2 separate regions of the Homo sapiens genome follow, and region 1 is linked to region 2. The links are contacts of gene promoters, found by promoter capture Hi-C in human tissues and cell types (Jung and others, 2019). All regions are on one chromosome and are shown on one strand. Each heading gives the region's core, a stretch centred on a gene start or on the middle of the fragment in contact. The rest is flanking DNA. Distances are from core to core; before and after follow the strand shown. Region 1 overlaps SARM1 (sterile alpha and TIR motif containing 1). Region 2 holds the start of UNC119 (unc-119 lipid binding chaperone).

Region 1 (6,738 bases), core at 34-2,533, 160 kb after region 2:
CACCAACTTGTATGCGATCTAGTCATTTTGAGACAGGGTCCCACTCTGTTGCCCAAGCTGGAGTGCAGTGGTGTGATCTCCGTCTTCTGGGCCCAAGCGATTCCCCTGCCTCAGTCTCCTGAGTAGCTGGGATTACAGGTGTGCGCCACCATGCCTGGCTAATTTTTGTATTTTTTTAGTAGAGACAAGGTTTCACCATGTTGCCCAGGCTGGTCTCGAACTCCTGACCTCAAGTGATCCTCCTGCCTCAGCCTCCCAAAGTGCTGGGATTACGGGTGTGAACCACTGTGCCCAGCCCTCTGGGCATATTCTTGTCTCTGAGCTGACTGCTTGTCTCATCCTGTCTCTTAGATGACTACTGCATCCCTCAGCCCCAACTCCAATTCCTACTGACCGATTAATGATTAATAACCTGAAGATGCAATATGGAGCTATCCATCAATGCATTCTGTTAGTATTCAATAAGTTCCTACAATGCGTCAGGCACTGAAAATACAATGATGAATTAAACAGATATAGTAGTTATAATAATTATATTAATAATAATAATTGCTACCATTATTGAGCAGTTACTATGTGCCAGCCATTCTGCTAAGCACTTCACAAATTTTGGCTTTTTTAGTCCTTATAACAATGTTCTAGGGAGTTAGATACTATTATTATACCCTCTTTCCAGAAATAAATATGAAGCTTATCGGGGTTAAGTAACTTGCCCAAGGCCAGAGCCAGGATTCAAACTCTCAGTTTTGAGCTCTCAACAACTATTCCATTCTGCCTGTCGCTATGCTCTCCTGTCTCTCATGGAATTTATTTTTCAAAGCATTTTTATGTCTCTCTGATCCTCACAACAGTTCTATAAGGTGAGTGGAACAGGTAAGTTACCCCATTTTGCAGAAAAGAAAACTGAGGCTCACATCCTGGCTAACACGGTGAAACCCTGTCTCTACTAAAAATACAAAAAAATTAGCCAGCCGTGGTGGCGGGCACCTGTAGTCCCAGCTACTCGGGAGGCTGAGGGAGGAGAATGGTGTGAACCCGGGAGGTGGAGCTTGCAGTGAGCCAAGATCACGCCATTGCACTCCAGCCTGAGTGACAGAGCGAGACTCTACCTCAAAAACAAAAAAAAAAAAAAAAGAAAAAGAAAACTGAGGCTCAGAGAGCCAAAGCCTAGTCTCTTGTCCCTTGTGGTTTGCTAAAGTCCTATTACAGTCAGAGCTGTGGTTCCTGACTTCCAGCTGGGCCAAGGAGGTGCTTCAGGGCTAAGTGTGCCGGGATGTGCAGACAAGAAGGAATAGAAGACGACCCTATCTTCTGGACCACAGGCCAATGCTGGGACCGCAGAAGCATAGGCAGGCACCTACCTTATGCACCCAATCCTTGCAGTCATGGTCTTGCATGCACTTGTCCAGTGCTCCAGGTGATAGCACCAACACAAAGTTGCGGGCACCCATGACACTCTGGATGAGTTTGTCCTCGAACTTGCCTGCTTCCAGCTTCTCCACATCAATGAAGACACTGAAGCCATGCAGCTGCAGGTGCACCTTCAGGAGACTGCAAGTAAGTCCTGTGTCAGTGCCACAGCCTTGTCCCCACGCCCCGTCGCTGCCCGCCCGCCCCTCCTCACCTGGCCAGCTGGGAACCTGAGTTCCGGCGGTAGCTGATGAAGACATCTGGAGTGTCCCCACTGGGTTTGCCACCAGTACAGGGCAGCGGGGAGTGTAGCATTTCTGAAGTGGGCAATAGGCAGCATGGTGAAGGTGGCCCCTCCGCATCACTCACTGTCAGGTATATCATCCCTTGTGGACTTAGTCCCCAGTCCACCAAGCCCTCTCAGCCCAGCCTGGGGAGGGTGGCCTGCCCCAAAAAGGAGAAATGGGGCCTCCAGGAGGAAGGTCATGTTATTGTTGGGTTCCTCTTAGGAGGCAGGCACTGTGTTCTAGGGACATTGATATGCATGCACTTCCAGCCCTGACCTCTCTCTGGAACTCCAGACCTGAACAGCCAGCTGCCCACAATCACTCCAAATTCAACACACCCCAAATCTCCCCCTCATTCCTTCTTCCCTATTTCCCACCAAAGCCAGACACCTGGGTATCAGCCTCAACTCCTGCCTCCCATTTAATTTATTCAACAAATACATCCTAAGCACTTGCTGTGTGCCAGGACTGTCTTCAGTGCTTGAGATTCAGCAGTGAGTAAAACAGACAGCACTCTGCTCCTCTGGAGCCACGCTCAGTACTAAGCGCCAGGCACCGCATTCTGAGGATTCTACCTACTAAACATACTGGACTCCAGCCTCCGGGCCCTTCCCTGGCTCAGGTTTCCAATGCCAGCCTCCTCAATGGCCTCCCCAAACCCAGCTAGAATTGCCCAGTCTAGGCCAGGGCAGTGGCCCACACCTGTAATCCCAGCACTGTGGGGGGCCAAGGTGGGTGGATCACTTGAGGCCAGGAGTTCGAGACCAGCCTGGCCAATATGGTGAAACCCTGTCTTTACAAAAAATTATCCAGGCATGGTGGCACATGTCTGTAATCTAGCTACTTGGGAGGCTGAGGCACGAGAATCACTTGAACCCAGGAGGCAGAGGTTGCAGTGAGCCAAGAATGCACCACCGCACTCTAGCCTGGGCGACAGAGTGAGACTCTGACTAAAAAAAAAAAAAAAGAAAAGAAAAGAAAAGAAAAGAATTGCCCAGTGTAGTCCATTTGCCACAGCTACCAGAACATCTTTCTAAAATCCAAATCTGAGCATGTCATTCCTCCCACTTAAAAACTATGCATGGCTCCCTACTCACTATACAAACTATTTTTTGTAAGCTATTTTTGCCCTAGGATTTTCCTGTTGTTTAAAAATGAAATCTTGCGCTGGGTGCGGTGGCCCACGCCCGTAATCTCAACACTTTGGGAGGCTAAGTTGGGAAGATTGCTTGAGGCCAGGAGTTTGAGAACAGCCTGGGCAACATAGTGAAACCCTGTCTCCACAAAAAATAAAAAAATTAGCTGGGTGTGGTGTTGCGCACCTGTGGTCCCAGCTACTTGGGAGGTGAGGTGGGAGAATCACTTGAGCCCGGGAGGTTGAGGCTTCAGTGGGTTGTGATTGCGCCACTGCACTCCAGCCTAGGTGACAGAATGAGACCTTGTCTCAAATTAATTAATTATAATAAAAATGAAATCTTGAAGTTTTAATGGGAGCTGCAATGTAAAAATAATAAAAGCCAACCTGCTTTGGTTGAAGCATAAGAATGCAGCCAAAGCTCAGTCCCTTGTGTCTTGTGGGTGCTTAGTCTGTAATTGCTGAATGAAAGGATAAAATGAAAAGAATTCATCTTCTTATAATATTTAGACATAACCCTCATAGACAACATTTGTTTGTTTATGAAGCAGAAAGACAAGGGCTCAAGTCCCAGTTTTGCCATCTAATGACTTTTATGACTGTGGGAAATGTATTTGAATTCTTTAAATGTTAGTTTCATTATCTTTAAAAGGAACACCCATGATGGAAATATTCTATATCTTTAATGATGATGGTGGGGGTGGGGGGTCACACAGATGTCTTTCAAAACTCCTCAAACTGATACTTTTTTTCTTTTTTGAGATAGGGTCTCACTCCTGCTGCCTAGGCTGGATGGAGTGTAGTGACCTGATCACAGTTCACTGCGGCCTTAACTTCCTGGGCTCAGGTGATCCTCCCACCTCAGCCTCCCAAGTAGCTGGGACTACAGGTATGCGCCACCACACCTAGCTAATTTTTTGTATTTTTTTGTGCTTTTAGTGGAGATGGGCTTTCACCATGTTGCCCAGGTTGGTCTCAAACTCCTGGACTTGAGCGATCCGCCTGCCTTGGCCTCCCAAAGTCCTAGAATTACAGGCATGAGCCACGGTGCCCGGCCCTCAAACTGGACACTTACTCCTCTTTTTATTCTTTCAAGAGTTCTTTAAGGTTGATTTTAAAAACTGAACACTCATTGCATAGAATCAATATAGAGACTGATGGGATAATATCTTAAAAACCAAACAGAGTACCTTGTAATTGACAATAAAGATTAGCTAAGTAGTAAATTAGTAAGTAAAAATAAATTAGTAAATAAGGAGGGTGGCTAGAGGCCTAGAATTCACTCTAAACCACCTCTAGACCCAAATTTTGTAAGCTGTTGGCCAATAGGATAACACACATACGCACACCCTTCCCGCCTACACCCCACTGCATGGACTCTCCATAGGCCGCTGCCTCTGCCTGGGCTGCCCTTCCTGTTGCCACCCCTCCCCGCCAGTGCACCTCTCAAGACATGGTCAGGCATCCTGTCCTCTCTGAAATCTAGACCTGGGTGGATGGGGTGGGCTGGGCTTCCTCTGTGCTCCCACTGGAGACCTGGGTAGCTTCCTGCCGGGGCCGCTTGCCTGTTTAATAGCCTCCTTCCTCCCACCGCCTACCCACCTCAGACTGGGAACTTCTTGAGGTAAAGTGCAACGTATTCATCTTTACATCCTCAGAGCCCAGTGTGACCCACGTTTGTGCTCAATCAATCCACGGCGAGGCTGGAAGGCTCCACCCCGTGTCTCCCCTCACCATTCCAGGGCCGTGGCTGGGGCTGGGGCTGGGGCGGGGTCCCGGGTGAGCGGGCTGACCTCTGGCCGCCGTGAGGATGCGGGCGCGGTGCACGCCCAGGTGGATGCCGCAGTCTTCCAGCAGCTGCTGCTCAGACACGCGGTGCAGCAGGGAGCGGTCCAGGCCGCAGCTGACCAGGCCGTAGGTGTACTGGCGGAAGCGCGGGTCCAGGCTGCCCAGCCAGTCCGCCAGGTTGCTGCGGTCGCACGTAGAATAGTTGGCGAAGGTCTTGAGCTCCGTGAGCTCCCTAAAGAACCTGCACCCCACGGAGGAGAAGACGCTGAGGTCCAGACTCGGACGGGCTGTGGGCGGAGGGGGAGCTTATTTAGACCTAGCTGGGGTCCGGCGGGCAGGAGGCTCCGTACCTCTTGCGGGTGATGCCCGATTTCATGCCCAGGTCGGTCTGGAGTTCCTCCTCCGTGAGCCGCAGAAGCAGGTCGCCATCCACCTGCTGCTCCTGGGGGAGGAGTCGGGTGTCAGGAAGGGCTTCGCTACTCCGCCCTTGGACCTCGAGCACAAGATGCAAGGGAAGGAACTGGAGATGGCGTGGAGGAGGCGGATGGGACCTAGATCAGAGCCGAGTGACCCTAACGGTGGCTGCGTACAGGCTCCCCGCCCCCAAAAGCGACCCTGGCGCCGCGGGATTGCGAGGCGGGGAGGGAACGCAGTCCCTGTGCACAGGGCGCCCGCTCTGACTCGGGGGAGGCGTATCCCACGCGACTCTACCCGGAAGCTCTCGCAGTACTTGGAGAAACCGATCTGCTGCAGCCACGTCTGAACCTCGGCCTCCTTCCAGCTGGGCACGGAGGGCAGGATGGGCCGTGGCACCTCCTCGCCCAGCAGGCGCAGCGCGCGCTTGGCCAGCGCCGACTTAGTGCCATTGGTAGAGTAGGAAACCAGGCGTTTCAGGCTCTGGATGGCGCCGATGTCGCTGAACACCTAGGGAGGGAGTGGGGAGAGGGCTGTAGGTCCCACCAGCTCTCCAGGTGCTCCCACACGTGCCCAGTCCCTCTCCTTGTCTCTTCTCACAACCCAAAGTCTCTCCATCTGCCCTGGCCCCACCTTCAGCCACTAAGTCATGGGGTCCTGCGGATTCCCCCTCCTGAAGTTCTCTCAATTCTTGACCAGGTCCTGACTCGGATGGGTTGGGGGCGGAGGGGCCTATCCCTCCTTTATATCCCTTCTACAGCATCCACCGGCCCTGGAATAAAGTTGAGCTCTCAGCATAGCGCCAGGCAGGGCACAGTGCAGCTGCCCATCACTCCCAGTTCACCTCACCTTCCACTAACTTACACTTCACACACACACGCACATGCACACATTCCAAGGCTTTCACACCTCTGGGTCTTGGCCCACTATGTTTCCAAACCCTTAGTTCTTCCAGTCTGCTCATGGGAATCCTCCCACTCCACGGAAATCCTACTCATCCACCAGAATCCAAATTGATTAGCACCTCCTTCATGCAGCCTGCTTTGATTCCCCCACATCCTGGCCCACACCTCCAATGAGGTCTTATACCACACTCTGAATGCCACTGTCACTGGTTGACGATGCAACTTCCACTGGAGTATAAGCTGAGGACATGTCTTAGTCACTACTGGAAACCTGCATCTGGCACGATGAAGGACACAGAGTGGGACTCGAGATGTCTTTGTTGAACTACACTCACTTGGCCTCGATGGGAAAGGGGTGACAGGCTGGTGATCATGGTTGCGGCCCAGATCCAATCCTTGGGGTCCTCACTCCCTACTTCCTTTAAGACCCTTTTCCCTAAGCAAAATGACCTGCCTTGTAGAGCAGGTCCTCCCTGACCCAGCTCTGGAGTGCAGAGAGAAGAATCAGAAGTTCCTAGAACACTGGATGTTGAAAGAGGCCCCAGAGACCCCCCTAACATAGCAGTCTCCTTTTTCTTTTTCTTTTTTGAGATGGAGCCTCACTTTGTAGCCCAGGCTGGAGTGCAGTGGTGCGATTCCAGCTCACTGTAACCTCTGCCTCCCAGGTTCCTGTGATTCTTCTGCCTCAGCCTCCCGAGTAGCTGGGATTACAGGCACCTGCCACCATGCCCAGCTAATTTTTGTATTTTTAGTAGGGACAGAGTTTCACCATGTTGTCCAGGCTGGTCTTGAACTCCTG
Region 2 (6,397 bases), core at 3,756-6,255:
TGTGAGGCCTTAGAAAATTCCTCCGTTCATTTATTCATTCAGCAAACATTGACTGAGGGACTACCTTATGACAGTGCTGAGTAGAGAAAAGAAGGGCATTTCAGGCAAAGGGAACTGTGAGCTTAGATGCAGACAAGTGAGAGAGCTTAGGCATTCAGGAAGCTCAGAGTAGTTTAGTGTGGCTGAAATGTGAGTGAGTGACCAAAGATGAAGCCGGTTAGGCAGGCAGGAGCCAGGTCATAAAGGACCATGTTAAGGAGTTTGAACTTTAACCTGATATGGGTGGCTAGTGATTGAGGGATATTAAGCAGGGAACTGACATAAGGTCAGATTTCTGGTTTGCATAAAACTATCTGTAGTAATATGGGTACATTGTGGGAGTGGCCAAGAAAGCTGTCGTAGACAGTCAAGGGGCCTTTGAGGAGGGAGAATTCGGGGGTGTTTTGGAGCTAAGGACTATGTTTCCATCGGTATGGCACATCTCGGGAGAACATTCTGAAGCCCTTTACTAGAGACACCCTGGACAGGAGGATATCCTAATGATTGTTAGTTGGGGAATCAGTCCCAGAGTGAGTGACCAGCAAGTTAGAGGCCGACCTGGGACTAAGGTCCAGGTCCAGCATGTTTTGATATTCTGCTTTCCCTTTATACCACAGGATCCAGTGCTGCCTCCTTGTACCCTGTGCTCAACTTTCTACTCTACGTGCCTGAGCTTGCACACTCACCGCTGTACATTCAGGACAAGGATGGCGCTCCAGTGGCCACCAATGCCTTCCATAGTCCCCGCTGGGGTGGCATTATGGTAATAGTCACACTACGCAGACCCCAGAGCCCATGCTTCTGGGACAGGCAGGTGTCCCTGAAACTGTGTTCCTTCTGTTTTCCTTCTGGTGTCCTCCATGGCCCAGCCTGTGGGAGGGGCAGGCACCAGGAAGGTGAGGGTGCTATGTGCTCATGCCCCTCTTCTGCCGGCCCCACTTTTGTTTCCGCCAGTGTTTTCTATACTGTGACCCTTTGCCCTTACCTAGGATCATTCTGTGTCCATCTTAGATCTTCGCCTTATTTGTGGGAGTCTTGCAAGGTTGGGAGCCTTGTCTCCCTTGTTAGACTGGAAGTTTCTCATGGGGGAGAATTCTAAAATGGGATAAGAAAAAAATATGTTCTACAGGACTTTCAAGGGGGTAATTGGGATAATGTATTTAATGCTCTCCGTAGTAGGTACTCAAAAAATATTAGCTATACCATGAGGTTTATAGCTTCTAAAGAGCACAGAATATGTTTTCCTTTTCTCTCCAGAGTGCCTAGGGCAGAGCTGTGCAAGGGCCTGGTATGATGTTGTGGCAATCTCATTCCCCCTTTCAGGTATATAATGTTGACTCCAAAACCTATAATGCCTCAGTGCTGCCAGTGAGAGTCGAGGTGGACATGGTGCGAGTGATGGAGGTGTTCCTGGCACAGTTGCGGTGAGGTCCTGGATGATCCACTTGGGGACATAGTCTCCTTGGCTGTAGAGGGGAGTTGCAAAGTGGAATCAAGTCTTACCTGGCAGGGATATCTTGGCTGTGCCTAGAGCCCCAGGGAAACCAAGAAAAGTTTCTAAGGATCCCATCATCCTTCTAAGAAGGACTAGTAGGTGACAAAATCATTTATTTTTTTTTTTGAGACGGAGTCTTGCTCTGTTGCCCAGGCCGGAGTGCAGTGGTGCCATTTTGGCTCACTGCAACCTCCACCTCCCGGGTTCAAGCAATTCTCTGCCTCAGCCTCCCGAGTAGCTGGGACTACAGGTGCCCGCCACCACAACTGGCTAATTTTTTGTAATTTTAGTAGAAACGGGGTTTCACCATCTTGGCCAGGCTGGTCTTGAACTCCTGACCTCGTGATCCACCCGCTTAGGCCTCCCAAAGTGCTGGGATTACAGGCGTGAGCCACTGTGCCCAGCCAGCAAAACCAGTTTTAAGAAAAATAGACTCATGAATGTCAGGTCCATGGAGTGTGATTAGGGCTGCTTAAGAAAATAGCTGTTAATTCTTATGCTGCCTGATGGATTGAGAGTGGCTGCCTGAGGCTCTGTGTTGAGGATTCTAAGGCTGTATCTGGGCTCATTAGGAAAGAGTATTCTTCTGATTGACTAGCAGTGTCTCTCACGGATGCAGGCTTAGAGAAGCACAGCACATGTGCCTTGGCAAAGGCAGTCCTGGATCATCCCTTAATGCTAAGTCCCATTGGCCCCATTTGTTCAAAGAGAGGGTAGAAAAGGTGAAAGGATTAAACTGAGTTGGTGTTATCAGAAGTATTTTAGCCATGGAACCTTTTTTTAAAAAACAAGATCTTGGAAATCTAATGTAGAAACAGGTAAAAGCAGAAACACCTGTTGAAGCAGCGTTTGGGGCCAACTTGTTTGGTGTTGCCCCTTATGCCCCCAAGACCCTGAGGTACTTCCCTTTAACCCCTATGGTTCTGGGTAAGATTGAAAATCACTGGCTCAGGACAGATATTTGAGAAATCTTAGCCATGATCTCCCGCCTTGTGGTCTCAGCCACCTTGATCTTACTCCGATGTTCCTACAGGTTGCTCTTTGGGATTGCTCAGCCCCAGCTGCCTCCAAAATGCCTGCTTTCAGGGCCTACGAGTGAAGGGCTAATGACCTGGGAGCTAGACCGGCTGCTCTGGGCTCGGTCAGTGGAGAACCTGGCCACAGCCACCACCACCCTTACCTCCCTGGCGCAGCTTCTGGGCAAGATCAGCAACATTGTCATTAAGGACGACGTGGCATCTGAGGTAAGCAGGCAGGGGATGGATTCTGCAGCTTGGGACTGGAGTAGCCAGAGAGGGCCAGAGTGTGGTGAGACCAGAGAGCCTGTGAGGTCCATGGTATGTGTGGGCTTGCCATCTTTAGTGTCCCAGCCTTCCTCTAGACGGCAGTACCAGCCCCCAAGCAGGAGTGCAGATGAGAGTGCGAGGTTTCAAGCTGACCCTAGGAAAATAAACCATATCCCTGTAGAAAGACTTCCATAGATCCTGGATGAACTCCAGGCATCTTCCTTGGTAGATGGAAGGCACAGTAAGGCCCAGCACCCTTTCCACCAATGCCTAGGACTTACTGGTATACCCTCTTGTCCCTTCTCCTTCCTAGGTGTACAAGGCTGTAGCTGCCGTCCAGAAGTCGGCAGAAGAGTTGGCGTCTGGGCACCTGGCATCTGCCTTTGTCGCCAGCCAGGAAGCTGTGACATCCTCTGAGCTTGCCTTCTTTGACCCGTCACTCCTCCACCTCCTTTATTTCCCTGATGACCAGAAGTTTGCCATCTACATCCCACTCTTCCTGCCTATGGCTGTGCCCATCCTCCTGTCCCTGGTCAAGATCTTCCTGGAGACCCGCAAGTCCTGGAGAAAGCCTGAGAAGACAGACTGAGCAGGGCAGCACCTCCATAGGAAGCCTTCCTTTCTGGCCAAGGTGGGCGGTGTTAGATTGTGAGGCACGTACATGGGGCCTGCCGGAATGACTTAAATATTTGTCTCCAGTCTCCACTGTTGGCTCTCCAGCAACCAAAGTACAACACTCCAAGATGGGTTCATCTTTTCTTCCTTTCCCATTCACCTGGCTCAATCCTCCTCCACCACCAGGGGCCTCAAAAGGCACATCATCCGGGTCTCCTTATCTTGTTTGATAAGGCTGCTGCCTGTCTCCCTCTGTGGCAAGGACTGTTTGTTCTTTTGCCCCATTTCTCAACATAGCACACTTGTGCACTGAGAGGAGGGAGCATTATGGGAAAGTCCCTGCCTTCCACACCTCTCTCTAGTCCCTGTGGGACAGCCCTAGCCCCTGCTGTCATGAAGGGGCCAGGCATTGGTCACCTGTGGGACCTTCTCCCTCACTCCCCTCCCTCCTAGTTGGCTTTGTCTGTCAGGTGCAGTCTGGCGGGAGTCCAGGAGGCAGCAGCTCAGGACATGGTGCTGTGTGTGTGTGTGTGTGTGTGTGTGTGTGTGTGTGTCAGAGGTTCCAGAAAGTTCCAGATTTGGAATCAAACAGTCCTGAATTCAAATCCTTGTTTTTGCACTTATTGTCTGGAGAGCTTTGGATAAGGTATTGAATCTCTCTGAGCCTCAGTTTTTCATTTGTTCAAATGGCACTGATGATGTCTCCCTTACAAGATGGTTGTGAGGAGTAAATGTGATCAGCATGTAAAGTGTCTGGCGTGTAGTAGGCTCTTAATAAACACTGGCTGAATATGAATTGGAATGATACAAAGTCTGAGCTCTACTCTTTCTGCATTCACGCGTAAGTAACAGTTTCCTGGTGTTTGTCCTCCTGTGCCCACAGGTCCACTTTGCTTCCACGTGGCCATGTGCCCTTCCTAGCTGGATTGCCCAAGGCTGTTAGCATCTGCTTTTTACCTGAGATACTAATTCATCAGGTCAAAAAAAAAAAAAAAAAAAAAAAAAAAGTCTTGAGCACCAGCTGCAGGGAGCCTTCTGCTAGGTACAGGGGTCCTACAGAGAACAAAGTAGGCAGGACCAGTGCTTTCACAGAGCTGAGCTTTCAGGGGGAAGAGTCAGCGGACAAATAAAAATAATTTCACATAATGCATTAGAAAGACAAAAACAGGCTGGTCAGATGGTGACTGAGGGGGAAGGACTTCAGACTGGGTGTGAGGGAGGCCCTTTGAGCAGATGACATTTGAGCTGTGACTAGGAGAAAAGAGGCCATCTGGGGAAGACCATCCAAGCAGAGACCCTGAGCCTGGAACTCACGGGCAGAAAGGCTGGAACACAATGAGTAAGCGGAGAGGTAGTCAGGACCCCACTAGTACCAGTACAAGAAAGTGTTAGAAAAACAGAATGAAGCCCAGGGCAGGATACCCCGACTCCCATCCCCCGCGCCCGTCGCATTTCGGGAGGGTTGGGCCGGGCGGCGGGCGGGATCAGCGCAGGGCCCACCCCAGGGGCGGGGCCGGGGCGGGGCAGTACCTGGGGCCCCGGCCGGGGGCGGGGCTGCGGATGCTCCCACTTCCCCCGGCTCCAGCCGGCGCAGGCAGCGGCGGCAGCAGCAGGCGAGCCTCGGCCCCGCAAGGCCATGAAGGTGAAGAAGGGCGGCGGTGGGGCCGGGACGGCGACGGAGTCCGCTCCGGGGCCCTCGGGCCAGAGCGTGGCCCCCATACCACAGCCGCCTGCGGAATCCGAATCTGGGTCCGAGTCGGAGCCGGACGCAGGCCCAGGGCCCAGGCCGGGGCCGCTGCAGAGGAAGCAGCCGATCGGGCCGGAGGACGTGCTGGGGCTGCAGCGGATCACCGGTGGTGAGCACCCGCGAGGGAGCGCCGCCCGCGGGTGGGAAGGGGAGAGGGTGCGAGGGGCCCTCCCGGCGCGCCAAGCCCTGGCCCCCGCCCCCTTTCCCGCCTCCCCTCCCCCACCGAGTCCCCTCTCCTGTGTCCCCTGCTCTCCCTTCTGCCGCCAGGTCTGAGATCTCTGTGTACCCCCTTCCCTTGATCTCTCTCTGTGCCTCCTTCTTCTCCCTTTCGAGATTTATTCCTTCCTTTTCCAGGGGCCCGTCCCCTTTTCCCAGCGTGGAGGTACGTGCGGCAGCAGCTGCAACCATAGCCCTGTAGCTGTGGAGTCTCCAGAGCGCTTTGAGGCCCGTCCCTGCACTAATGAAGAGAGGGGCTGAGTGCAGCCTGTCCTCAGCCCCCACGCTGGAGGCTAGGTGGAGGCTGAGTTACTTGGGAGGCATTCAGACTCTTCATGTCTCCCCAACCATTAATACCCTCACCCTGATCCTCCAGGAAGACTTGGGCCATTTTCTTCCCCGGGAAAGAAACTGAGCAGGCAGCTTTAGTGTGTTGGCTGTGGTTCCTCTCATGGGGAGTGGCATAATGTCCCTCCAAGCCTGGACTAGCACCTGTCCTCTTCTGGGGGCTCTGTCATCAAGGGAGGCTTGGTCTCCACTGTGGTTAAGAGTTTCTGAGCTGGACTGCCTGGGTTGGAGTTCCAACTCTGCCATATAATTGTCTGTGTGACCTTGGGCAAGTAACCTCACCTCTCTGAGCATGTCTTTTCATCTGTAAAATGGGGATAATGATACCTTTCTCGTAAGATTATTGTGAAGATAAGTCCTCTGATTCTGTACAGTGCCTGGCATCTATGCATGCTGTGTACATTGGGCTCTTTGATCAGTAGTATTTTTGGGCCCTACAGGGCTGCTCATAGCTGCTGCCTGGAGTCAAACAACTTGGCTTTCAGGGCAGGGGAGGGGGTCATCATAGGCAGGGAACGAGGGCTAGGAAACCTCATAGCAGAGGCTTTGGATGAGCCTCAAAGGATGAAAGGTGCATGGAGAGACAGTGGCTCTCCACCTTGGCCACATTCACCAGCAACCTGCCCTGGCCCCCTTTGTGAGAATAACTGT

The links. Contacts are between HindIII fragments. The study calls those that stand out against the background at their distance.
Region 1: a fragment that was not itself captured here is called in contact with the fragment with the promoter of UNC119 in region 2 in 1 of the 25 tissues and cell types used here (dorsolateral prefrontal cortex).

What each region holds. Positions count from the first base shown.
Region 1 is chr17:28,383,163-28,389,900 of GRCh38, reverse strand. It overlaps SARM1 (sterile alpha and TIR motif containing 1), which reads right to left. Exons shown (of 9, transcript NM_015077.4): 3 at 5,332-5,544; 4 at 4,971-5,062; 5 at 4,626-4,861; 6 at 1,625-1,727; 7 at 1,362-1,551. Among named protein-coding and RNA genes, the nearest start is that of SARM1, 15 kb to the right of the region's middle. RefSeq lists an enhancer at 4,885-4,954. The HindIII fragment of the contact is 5,996 bases long and covers 1-4,281 here.
Region 2 is chr17:28,551,232-28,557,628 of GRCh38, reverse strand. It overlaps UNC119 (unc-119 lipid binding chaperone), which reads left to right and starts at 5,005. Exons shown (of 5, transcript NM_005148.4): 1 at 5,005-5,291. The coding sequence starts at 5,072. PIGS (phosphatidylinositol glycan anchor biosynthesis class S) reads left to right here. Exons shown (of 12, transcript NM_033198.4): 9 at 657-802; 10 at 1,363-1,463; 11 at 2,568-2,778; 12 at 3,134-4,242. The coding sequence ends at 3,409. RefSeq lists silencers at 4,829-5,278, 5,339-5,388. The HindIII fragment of the contact is 10,966 bases long and covers 1-6,397 here.